Linked DNA regions of Homo sapiens: region 1 is linked to region 2. The links are contacts of gene promoters, found by promoter capture Hi-C in blood cells and fetal thymus (Javierre and others, 2016). All regions are on one chromosome and are shown on one strand. Each heading gives the region's core, a stretch centred on a gene start or on the middle of the fragment in contact. The rest is flanking DNA. Distances are from core to core; before and after follow the strand shown. Region 1 holds the start of OR5M11 (olfactory receptor family 5 subfamily M member 11). Region 2 holds the start of OR5M10 (olfactory receptor family 5 subfamily M member 10).

The links. The method cuts DNA at HindIII sites, captures the fragments that hold promoters and counts their contacts. A CHiCAGO score of 5 or more calls a contact.
Region 1: the fragment with the promoter of OR5M11 here is called in contact with the fragment with the promoter of OR5M10 in region 2 in 9 of 17 cell types (neutrophils, fetal thymus, activated CD4 T cells and 6 more); the score reaches 10.7 in neutrophils.

Annotation. Positions count from the first base shown.
Region 1 is chr11:56,538,968-56,544,836 of GRCh38, forward strand. OR5M11 (olfactory receptor family 5 subfamily M member 11) reads right to left here and starts at 4,290. Exons shown (of 1, transcript NM_001005245.1): 1 at 3,373-4,290. The coding sequence starts at 4,290. The coding sequence ends at 3,373. The HindIII fragment of the contact is 1,332 bases long and covers 3,734-5,065 here.
Region 2 is chr11:56,574,644-56,579,994 of GRCh38, forward strand. It overlaps OR5M10 (olfactory receptor family 5 subfamily M member 10), which reads right to left and starts at 3,078. Exons shown (of 1, transcript NM_001004741.1): 1 at 2,131-3,078. The coding sequence starts at 3,078. The coding sequence ends at 2,131. The HindIII fragment of the contact is 7,953 bases long and covers 1,972-5,351 here.

The sequences.
Region 1 (5,869 bases), core at 3,040-5,539, 34 kb before region 2:
TTAAATATCAACCCTAAGAGAAGACATCTTCTACCTACAGTAAAATCTGTGCACCATCATAATTGTTCTCTCTCCTGTTGCCTTATTCTACTTATTTATGACACTTGTCACAATCTTAATTTTAAGTGCAGTTTATTTTGTTTGTTTAAGATATATCTTCCCCTCCAGCCTGTTATCCAAGAGAAGAAGAAACTGTATTTTATATTCACTGTATACACAACACTCAGTACACTGCCTGGAACATGCTAAGTTATCCATAAATGTTTTTTGAGTAAATATATTGAAAACAAGAATCTTGATTATATCCACAAGTGTTTAGTTTTGGTTCACGTGATTTTTTAAAATTAATAAATTTTGCAATAATTATAATATTATGAAATTCTCATAAAATCCAAGTAATCTGACTATACTTAGTTTGCTTTTTGGAATTGCAATAAATGGATGAAGCAGAACAGCATATTTCTTCATTAAAGAAAAAATACTCCATGATTTACCCAAATTGCCTAAACATATTATTACTATCCTTCAGCCACCACCCCAATTCACAATTTTATTTGATTTTTTTGACCACAGAAATGAATATAGTGTGAAATTAAGTAAAATTTCTAATTAAAAAGTAGATTATGGACACAATGCAGAAAATGCTTACTTCTACCTACAAAAGTCAGCAAGATATCCCATAGATGAGGATGTTGGAGCCATGGTGCCTTGATCAGATGAGAAAAAGAGAACAAAGCATCCCGCACATGTGAAATTAGAAATACATGGTTGTTAATTGTAATTACATCTCTCTCAGTATAAGTCTATGTTGGATGAGTGGGAAAATCTTCCTTATGCCCCTGAAATTACACTGTCATTAAGCCTGAAACTTAAGATAATTTGATACTTAATAAAACAATCCCACTTCTAACAACAGATGCATGAACAAATATGTCAAATTTTTAAATGGAATCTTAATAATGCCACAAAAAAAATCAAACTAATGATATACAACCTGATGATACATTAAATATGTTCCCCCTAAAATAAGGAGCAAGGCTGGGTATGGTGGCTCACGCCTATAATCCCAGAACTTTGGGAGGCTGAGGCAGGTGGATCATGAGGTCAGGAGTTCGAGACCAGCCTGACCAACATGGCGAAAACCCATCTCTATTAAAAATACAAAAATTAGTCAGGCATGGTGGTGGGTGCCTGTAATCCCAGCTACCCAGGAGGCTGAAGAAGGAGAATCACTTGAACCCGGGAGGCAGAGGTTGCAGTGAGCCAAGATTGTGCCATTGCACTCCAACCTGGGCGACAAGAGCAAGGCTCTGTCTCAAAACAAACAAAGAAACAAAACACAAATGAAATGAGGAACAAGGCCTTGATATTTGTTTTCACTACCTCTATTTGACATTATAATATCAGTCTAAGTCTGCAATGATGAAGGAAAAATAAATAAAACTCATAAATATTGGAAAGGAATAAAATCTGTTAATTTGCAGATGAAATGAAGTAAATTTTAGAGAATTTATAGAAGAAACAAACAAAAATTCTACTCTAATTAAGACAAATGAGCAGGGTTGCTGGATGCAAGGGTCATAATTAAGCTCAATTATTATGTATCCTAGTAACAAATGGATATGAAATATACAATGAGACATACGGTTTCTCTTGGCCTTAGAGTTCAGCATTTTGGTTGATTACCGAGATTCAGCTGTACTCTTGTCTTTAGAAGCTGTGAAATATAACCATATATTTGTCATAAATTGCCGTTGTTGACTTAGATAGCTTGGGGCTCTTTTTTCCTTGTAAAACTAACAACAAACCCAAACAACAACAGGAACAAAATGCAGAAGCCTTATAAATACAGTTACTTAATGTACAACTTAATATATACACAAAATATTTTATCTTTTTATTTTCTAATGGCGTAATGGCAGAATTTGCCTTCCAATAAAGATATTTAGAAAATATTTAGTATTTTGAGGCAATAAGTAGAAAGTTTGGAGAGTAGAAGAATCTTGACCAGGCACAGTAATTTATGCCTATAATCCCAGCATTTTGGGAGGCTGAGGCAGGAGAGCCACTTGAGCCCAGGAGTTTAAGACCTTCCTGGGCAATATAGACAGATATCAGATCTACAAAAAAATTTAAAAATTAGCCGAGTGTGGTAGCACACACCTGTGGTCCCAGCTACTAGGGAGGCTCAGGCGGGAGGGTCACTTGAGCCTAGGAGTTGGAGGAAGTTATTAATATGATCATGCCACTGTTCTCCAACCTGGGCAACAGAGTGAAACTCTATCTTAAAAAAATATATTTTTTACTTGTTCCTTAAATAATTCATTTTAGCATAATGTCTAAAGAGGAATTCTTTCTACTTTCTAAAGTTTCTTGAAGATGCCAGAGCAATGTCTTCTCTTCCTGTGGAAGAAATCCTTACTTCCTTGGACACATATAAACAGGCCAGTGCTAAGGAAAACAAAAAATTAACATTACTTACCTAAACTTAATTACAAATAGAAGGAATATTCAAAGCAAGGTGGATACTCTATCGTATGACCTATTGTTTACTCGGTTCTTTCATTTCCCATTTTAATTTTAGTCCTTATTCTCAGATCAGCCTGCTTAAATTTTTCAAAATCAGGCGAAACAGAAAGTGACCTCCATACACTGGAGGCTCAGAATGGGAAGGTGGGTTTATGTAACTCAGAGAGCTGGATCCATAAACTCAAGTTTAAGAAAAGTACAATCATTCTCTTCCCCTCTTTTTCCATTGCCACTCTTCACTATGTAAGAGCACTTATAAAAACCAGAAGCCATCACCATGGCCCCTAGTTTCTGGTCTACCACAGCAAGTCAGGAAAGGAGTACAGAAGAATGGATTTCTTGGAGTGCAGAAGAATGGGTTTCTTAAAGACATCTCTGCTGAAGCAGCAGGCGAGAATAAGAATAGAATACATTCAAGAAATTGGGCTGGGAGCACATTTATTTTGTTTGCCATTGTAAACAAAAAGAGCACAACAGTGTTCCAGGGCATGCCACGTTTCACCCACAGCAGTGCTCCTCAAAATTCAGTGTGCTTATCAATCATCTAGGAGTTTGGATAAAACACATATTTAAATACAGTGCACCTGAGGTGCAGACTTTGATTCTGTACGTGTAACAACCTCCAAGGAAGAGCTCATGCTGCTGATTCATGGAATATATGTGGAGGAGCAAAGCCTAGAAAAATCTCATTTTTACCCAGCATGAGCTTTTTAGCTGAGACACTCAACATAGACTCACAGAGAATATTAAAACTCACCATCAGAACGCTAGGACATGTGAGCCAAAGATTTCGATTTAATGTTTATTAGGAAACAAAGGCATCACCATGGTCATGACAATATTTCATCTCAGGACATTCTTCAAGGCCTGCTTCACATCTTTATTCCTCAGACTGTAGATCAATGGATTAAGTACCGGACTCACAAAGGTGTAAAAGACAGCTATTATTTTAGATTCCTCAACAGTCTTATCTGTTGGTGGTCTTATATACATGCAAAAGAGAGTCCCATAAAACAGGGTGACAGCCATCATATGGGAACCACAGGTGGAGAATGCCTTGTGCCTTCCCTCTGCTGATTTGATCCGGAGGATGGCAGCAAGAATGAAGGCATAGGACACCAAGACGATGGTGAGGGAGCTGGAGAGGTTGAAGCCAGCAGATATGAACATGGCATGCTCTTTGACATAAGTATCAGAACAAGAAAGCTTAATGAGCGGCGGGTCAGCACAGTAGAAGTGGTTGATGACACTGGATCTACAGAAGGTCAGGCGGAAGGTCAGGATGGCCTGGAAGAGTCCATCTGAGAAGCCATAGACATAGGGAAATGTGGCCAAGCAGATGCAAACTCTCCTGGACGTTTTCACACTGTAGCGCAGAGGGTCATATATGGCCACATAGCGGTCATAGGCCATTGCTGCCAGCATGTAAAACTCAGTGAGTAGAAGGGCAATGAAAATGTAGCACTGTGTAAAGCAACCAGCAAAGGAAATGGTCTTCTCAGATACGATATTAGTCGACATCTGCGGGGTTGCATTTGATGTATAGCACAAATCCACAAAGGCTAAGTTAGTGAGGAAGAAGTACATGGGCGTGTGAAGGCGAGAGTCCAGTCTCATTAACATTATCATGCCCAGGTTGCCTAGCAGGGTGACGAGGTAAACAACCAGAAACAGCACAAAAAGCAGAGACTGGAGTTCCGGGCAATCTGTGAGCCCAAGTAAAATGAATTCTGTGATTGCACTGCCATTTGTGTTGGACATTTCCTGACAGTTTGCTCTTCAAGCTATGGAAATAAAGCCAATATAAACAAATGCACATACCATGTTAATGTTCATTTGAATTAGTTTTTCTCCACATCTTCATATATCATCGAAAGTTATCTATTTCTGGGTACTACCATAAACTGGTTTTGGTAATTATGGTAGACTTACTATAATTTTGTAAGTCTACAATGTCATTATATCATTTGCCTAGGCATTACATTACTAATATATTCTTTCTCTACACCTATAGATATATCTATACCTACACCTGTATCTATCTATCCATCATCTATCTATCTATCTATCTATCTATCTATCTATATGACTGAGCTACATCTCTTCTATCTTCCTGTACTTTTTAAAACCTAATTCTATTCATGCTACATGACCCACTTTAAAGGCCACTTCTTTGTGAAGCATTTCTCATCCATTTCTCCTAATACGTGTCACTGAATTCTCTCTTCTTTATTTCCAGAGTATTCTATATTTCTCTAATTTATTATTTAGCCCCCATTGTATCATTATAAAGTATATACTTTCTCATCACATAATGGTGTTGAGAGCAGGGACAAAGTGAAGTTCATTTTTTAATTATACTTCTCAACACATATTTTTATACTAAATTTTCTTAAAATGCAAAAAGGAGAGCATGTAAGAATGAATGACTTGCAATTTTTACTCACAGATTTATCTCCATGTAGCCTTGCGTGATGTCATGTTCTCAGGAGAATTAAGTGATTATTGAAACTTAGTGTAGAAGCAATTCTTGGGAAGCTTGTTTATTAGCCCATATCACAGGTTTTTGCAGAAATTCTTATGTGGGGTACTGGAATCTTCATCTCTAATGATTATCTGTAGGATTCTAATGCAAGTGTTCCAAGATCATAGCTCAAAATGCACAGTCAGAATGGCTCAATAAACATATGCCAAATAAATGAACAAAGAACTGTGAAATAAAATAAATTTTCATATAGTATCTTGAGGATGTTTAGAGCAATGACTTAATGTGTTTAGAAAGAAAATAAATTAATATTTTCAGAGTTGGTATTTAATCTTTTAATCACAACTTGTATCTAACAAGAGGTATTACAAATCCTTTTGGCTTTTTACCTCTCTTCACATCAGAATCTTTGCTAATTCACATTTTCCTTTCTTTCGAGAAGTTTTTAATTTTTGCCCATTCTTTCATACTTGAAATTTTTATTACAGGCTTCTCAATTCTTGTCTCATCTCAAAATGAGTCACCTCATTTATTTTACTGTAAGTTTTAGAATGCCTATAATCAAAACTCTGTCTTGCTGTTACTATTGAGAAAAGCAACGTACAAAAAGGTTAAATAATTGAACCGAGGTCACACTACTAGTGCATACAATCTGAGAATCTGAGGTAAGAACTGAAAATTATGTATTTTAAAAACTTCCTTTATTAGCTGCTGCTGCAATACATATCACCTTTCTAAAGCTAAACTGTTTCATAAAATTGTATGTATAGACCTGGAAGGCCTTGAGATATATGATGATAAGGAACTTCTGGGGACACAGATAGTCATGGCATTCTTACATAGTGCACCATGATA
Region 2 (5,351 bases), core at 1,828-4,327:
ATAGAACCAGACTTATTCAACCAACTGACACTTAAGAATATAACCCAATTTTACAAAAACTGTTAGTCATCTGTTTAATATTCTGGAAAACCACTTGAACATTTTATAGTAGATACAGTAGTTGATATCATATAAGCATTTTCTGTAGCATTTTCTGTATAGTGTTAGTTAAAAGCAGAGTGCAAAATATTAAAATGTCAAACATAAGAGGCAATTTAATAGGGCTAAATATGTATGTATTAATATGCAGTCATCTGGTTGACTAAATAATACATTGATTAATGTGTATCTTTATTTAGCCTCTTTGTGATTGATTTTCCCTGTAGTAGCTTTGAGAACTAGAATACCCTAATGTAAAAAAATAATGTGCCACAGACAGTTGTGTGAAGCAAAATAAACACTATTTCCTCCAAAAAGATACGTACGCCCCTATTAATTTTTATACTGTTTCAGGGTGTTAAAGAAGCAGGAGTCTAGGAGATCCAGGGTGACAACATTTTAAAATCAACTCTGTCTTGAGGTTAACAAGGCACAGTCCTGGCCGGTCATGACCCATGTTCATAAGATGCTTATAGTTTAGGAAACAGCCTAAAAATACCTACAAGAACACGCTAATAATGCAGCAAGAGAACCTAGGTGTCCCAATTCTCATAAGAGTATATGCTTTTATCATGATAATAATAGTTATGCACACACTAAAATATCAAGGATCGTTTTCTTTAAATCAACAGAATGATAAATTTTGTCATGCCGTCAGCCTACCCACATGTAGCCACAACTTACTTTAGTCTGTACGTAGATAAAAGACCATTAAAAAAACTTAAAGAGGGTGCATTCCTCCACTTGCTTTCTGGGAACACCTTACTCTGTAATGCAATAGCCTTTAATAAATGATCTCTTTGGAGTAGCATTTAATGAACTATCTCTTCTCACTGCACTTTGCAGCTTATCTTGAAATTTTTCCTCTGTAGATCCAAGAACCCCCTGCTGGGATCTGGATCAAGACCCCTTTTTCCACTAACAAAGTCATTTATGCATATGCAAATATCAATTGATAAACCCTATTGATTCCTACTAAATTATTCCTAAGTCAGAGGTACTTCACTGGAAAACATACGTGGAATGCAATTGAAGTATTTTGATGATAGAAATGGATCCATGCACTTGAAAACTCAAAAAAAAAAAAGGGTGTTGAGAGTTGATTTTCAGAATTGAGGACCATAACTGGTATTACCACATGAACCAATAAGAAGCTTCTCACGATGTTTACAGTGTGGGTTTTGAGAATACTTACAGAAAATTTAACTTATAGGTGATTCATATATTTACATTTTTTGCACAGTGATTACAATAAGTTCACAGGTTTCAGAACTATTGTTCAAGACACCACATTGAAGTAGAAACAATTTTTTTCTTTTTTCGTTTTCTTTTTATTTATTTATTTATTTATTTTTTTGGAGATGGAGTTTCGCTCTTGTCGCCCAAGTGGAGTAAGTACAATGGCGTGATCTTGACTCACTGCAACCTCCGCCTCCCAGGTTCAAGCTATTCTCCAGCCTCAGCCTCCTGAGTAGCTGGGATTACAGGCATGTGCCACCACAACCAGCTAATTTTGTAATTTTAGGAGAGACGGGGTTTCACCATGTTGGCCAAGCTGGTCTCAAACTCCTGACCTCAGGTGATCCACCTATCTCTGGCTCCCAAAGTGCTGGGATTACAGATGTGAGCCACCATGCCCGGCATCATTTTTTTAAAAATGTAAAATTAGCCACCCTATCTGGAGCCTCACTATGGCTCTATGGATAGTAATATTCAAAGGGGTTGGATTTTCAGAGTTTCTCTCAGGCTAAGTTAGTTAAAAGTTTACCCCCAAGTAAGTAAACCCAGTATTTTCATACAGAATTATTAGAAACCAAACAATTTATATTCATAGAATCTCTGACAAATAAAACATTATTAATTTCAACATTAAGCTTTTTATTTTTAAAAACTAAATCTTCAAAGTGTTAATTTTGAGAAGAAACTAAAGTGGTTACTAAGAGCCCATACTGTTAAATAATAACTACACTAGGTTTTTCCATTTCAGTTTGTTACCCCACAGGCACTTAGGGATTACAAATAAACACAGGCCTAAACTGCAATTTTACAAAAGGATTTTCCCCTAATCATTTGTTGTATGGCAAGGATTACATCTCTGTTCCGTAGGCTATAGATCAATGGGTTCAGCATTGGGCTCAAAAAAGTATAAAAGACTGCAATTATTTTGGACTCCTCTACAGACTTCTCTGATGGAGGCCTTACGTACATGCAGAAGAGGGTTCCATAAAACAAAGTGACTATTGTCAGGTGGGAAGCACACGTAGAAAAGGCTTTGTGCCTGCCTTCAGCAGAACGGATCCTGAAGATCGCTGCAAAAATGAAAAGATAGGACAGAAGAATGATGAAGAGAGAGCTTGAGAGAGTAAAGCCTGCAACTACAAACATTGCCATCTTTTTGACACGGGTGTCAGAGCAGGCCAGCATGATAAGAGGAGGATCAGCGCAGTAGAAATGATTGATTTCAAGGGAGCCACAGAAGGATAAGTGAAAGGTCAGCAGTGTCTGAGAGAGCCCATTAAGGAAGCCATACATGTAAGGCACAGTGACCAGAGAGATGCAAATGTTCTTGGACATCCTGGAACTGTAATGTAAAGGGCTGCAAATGGCTACATAGCGATCCAATGCCATTGAAGCAAGGAAGTAAAACTCAGTGATCACTAGGGCGATGAAGAGAAGACACTGTGTGAAGCATCCAGCGTAGGAGATGGTCTTCTGTTCTGAGAGGAAATTGTGCAGCATATTTGGAGTAACATTGGAAGAATAGCAAATGTCTACAAAGGAGAGGTGACCAAGGAAGAAATACATGGGTGTTTGCAGTTGGGAATTGGTCCTGATCAGCAGGATCATGCACAGGTTGCCTGCCAGTGTGATTAGGTAGATCGCCAGGAACACCCCAAACAGGATCTTCTCTAGCACTGGGTCGTCTGTCAGTCCTAAGAGAATGAATTCTGTCACTATGGTGTGGTTTGGGGACAACATCTTCTTATTTCTTGAAAACTGAAAGTGACAAAGAATGTGAGGATTCTCTCTGATCCAGATTTGGCATTTGTTTCATCCATTTATCATTCACTCATTCATCTATTCATCTAGGCACCAATTACTTTTTTCAATAAACACATCAGAATTTCTGCACAACGTTTTCTCTTTATATGTGTGTGTTTTCTGTCTCTTTTTGTATCTCAAACCCACACACACACAGGCACATTCTCTATTTCTGTCTCTTATATATATACATTTATAAATTTATACATTAATGCATTTATACTTGTCTTCTTGGTGAATTCTACATTTGGTAATTATTTTCAAGGTTTGTGAGGGAACAAAAAAAACAAAGAAATGAATATCAGATATTAATATTAGCATCATTTAAATAAATAAATGTAGGAAGTCCAATCTTCAGTTTCCCTCCATGTCTGATATCTTATTATTTCAGATACAAAACAGAAGAAAAAAATTAAGGTAGCATTTTCACTTAAAACCTATGACTGTCGGCCGGGCGCGGTGGCTCACGCCTGTAATCCTAGCACTTTGGGAGGCCGAGGCGGGCAGATCACGAGGTCAGGAGATCAAGACCATCCTGGCTAACACTGTGAAACCCCATCTCCACTCAAAATACAAAAAAGTAGCCAGGCGTAGTGGCGGGCGCCTGTAGTCCAAGCTACCGGGAGGCTGAGGCAGGAGAATGGCGTGAACCCGGGAGGCGGAGCTTGCAGTGAGCCGAGATCACACCAGGGCACTCCAGTCTGGGCGACAGAGCGAGACTCCGTCTCAAACAAACAAACAAACAAACAAACAGAAACCTATGATTGTCAGTGAACATTAAATTAGTTAAACTTAGTGCTTGATATATGGCTAAGAATATACAAAACCAAGAACTGTTTTTTCACTTTGAAATTTTACCTGCCTGTTTATTCATGTACACTGACTGCATAGCTTGATTTTTTTGTGTGTATTACAATTCCTGGGGTTATTGGAGTGAACAAATTTTCCAGTTTCATGGAGCTCACATTATAATATGAGAAATAATGGTTAAACCCACAGAGAAAGATACATATTATAATTTCAAGTAAAAGCTGGGTCTGTGAAGAACAATGAATGTGAGATTCTTTTAGATGACTATTCAAAGTAGCCTTTTCTGAGAATGCAACATTTGAACAGTAAATAAACAATTATAGCACCTGAAGGAAGAGAGTGAAGTTTTTTTGTCTCCATTTATATGCCACTAAACTACTTATTAAAATATTGTTAGAGAATCACAGAACATTGTTAAAAGCAGTCTTTGCTGCCAACTCAAGCCACTCTCTCTGAGTTCTTCATGAAAATAAGCTATGACTGTAAAAATTATTGCTCAAAAATTTGCACCCTAAAGAAATTGCTTATTTAGCTCTCACATATACATCAGAGGAGCTTGCATATAATTGATTTTAGAGTCAATGAAATGTTAACATATGAATAGAAAAGTCCAGTGAAATTGATGAAAATATGGGTTTCCTCTATTGATTGGATACTAATCTCCACACACAGAAAAAGTTGTATTTTTAGTGAACAAATGTAGCAAATGACCTACCTGTTAATGTTAACTCACCATAGTTTGTAAAGCAAGGTGGCAAGATATATATTTCTTAGCTATATTCCCTAGAGTATTTTTAAAGTAATTCTAAAGAACCAATTATAATATCCTTTGTTCCTCAAGGGCTTAACATTTATTTGATAGTTTGAACAGCTAGATTCTCCTTTGAAGATGAAATCCCTATACAACATTTATGTACAGTTTTGTTACATGTGTTCATCAGAGCTTTAGCACAAACAGAGAAACTAGCCATCACTTTCAATAATATGGAAGAAGGAAAATATAGATAGATAAGTTTTGTAATTTTAATATAATAAAACCAAGAAGGTTTTCATCAGAACTCTCCAGTTTTGTCTATAGACACTGGGGTGAGGTCCTTTACTGAGGGTGAGGGGTAGAAAGGTGTGGCAGCTGAAAGACTTGAGGAAAGGAAGGATTTGTAAGGATGTGGAGAGCAGCAGAGTGACAACATAATCAGTAGAAGGAAGCAGAAGTATTGGTCAGGGCCCAGGTCCTTTGGAGGACGGACGTTCTGGATTTATGCTGGAACTAGTCTGCCCTATTGAAAGTCATTAACAAGCTAAGAATCAAAGACAGGTCTGAGACCAGGACCGTTTATAAAATTGATGAGTCATAAAATTGTTGACTTAGGAATAGGGCTGAAAATAGAAGGAAGAATATT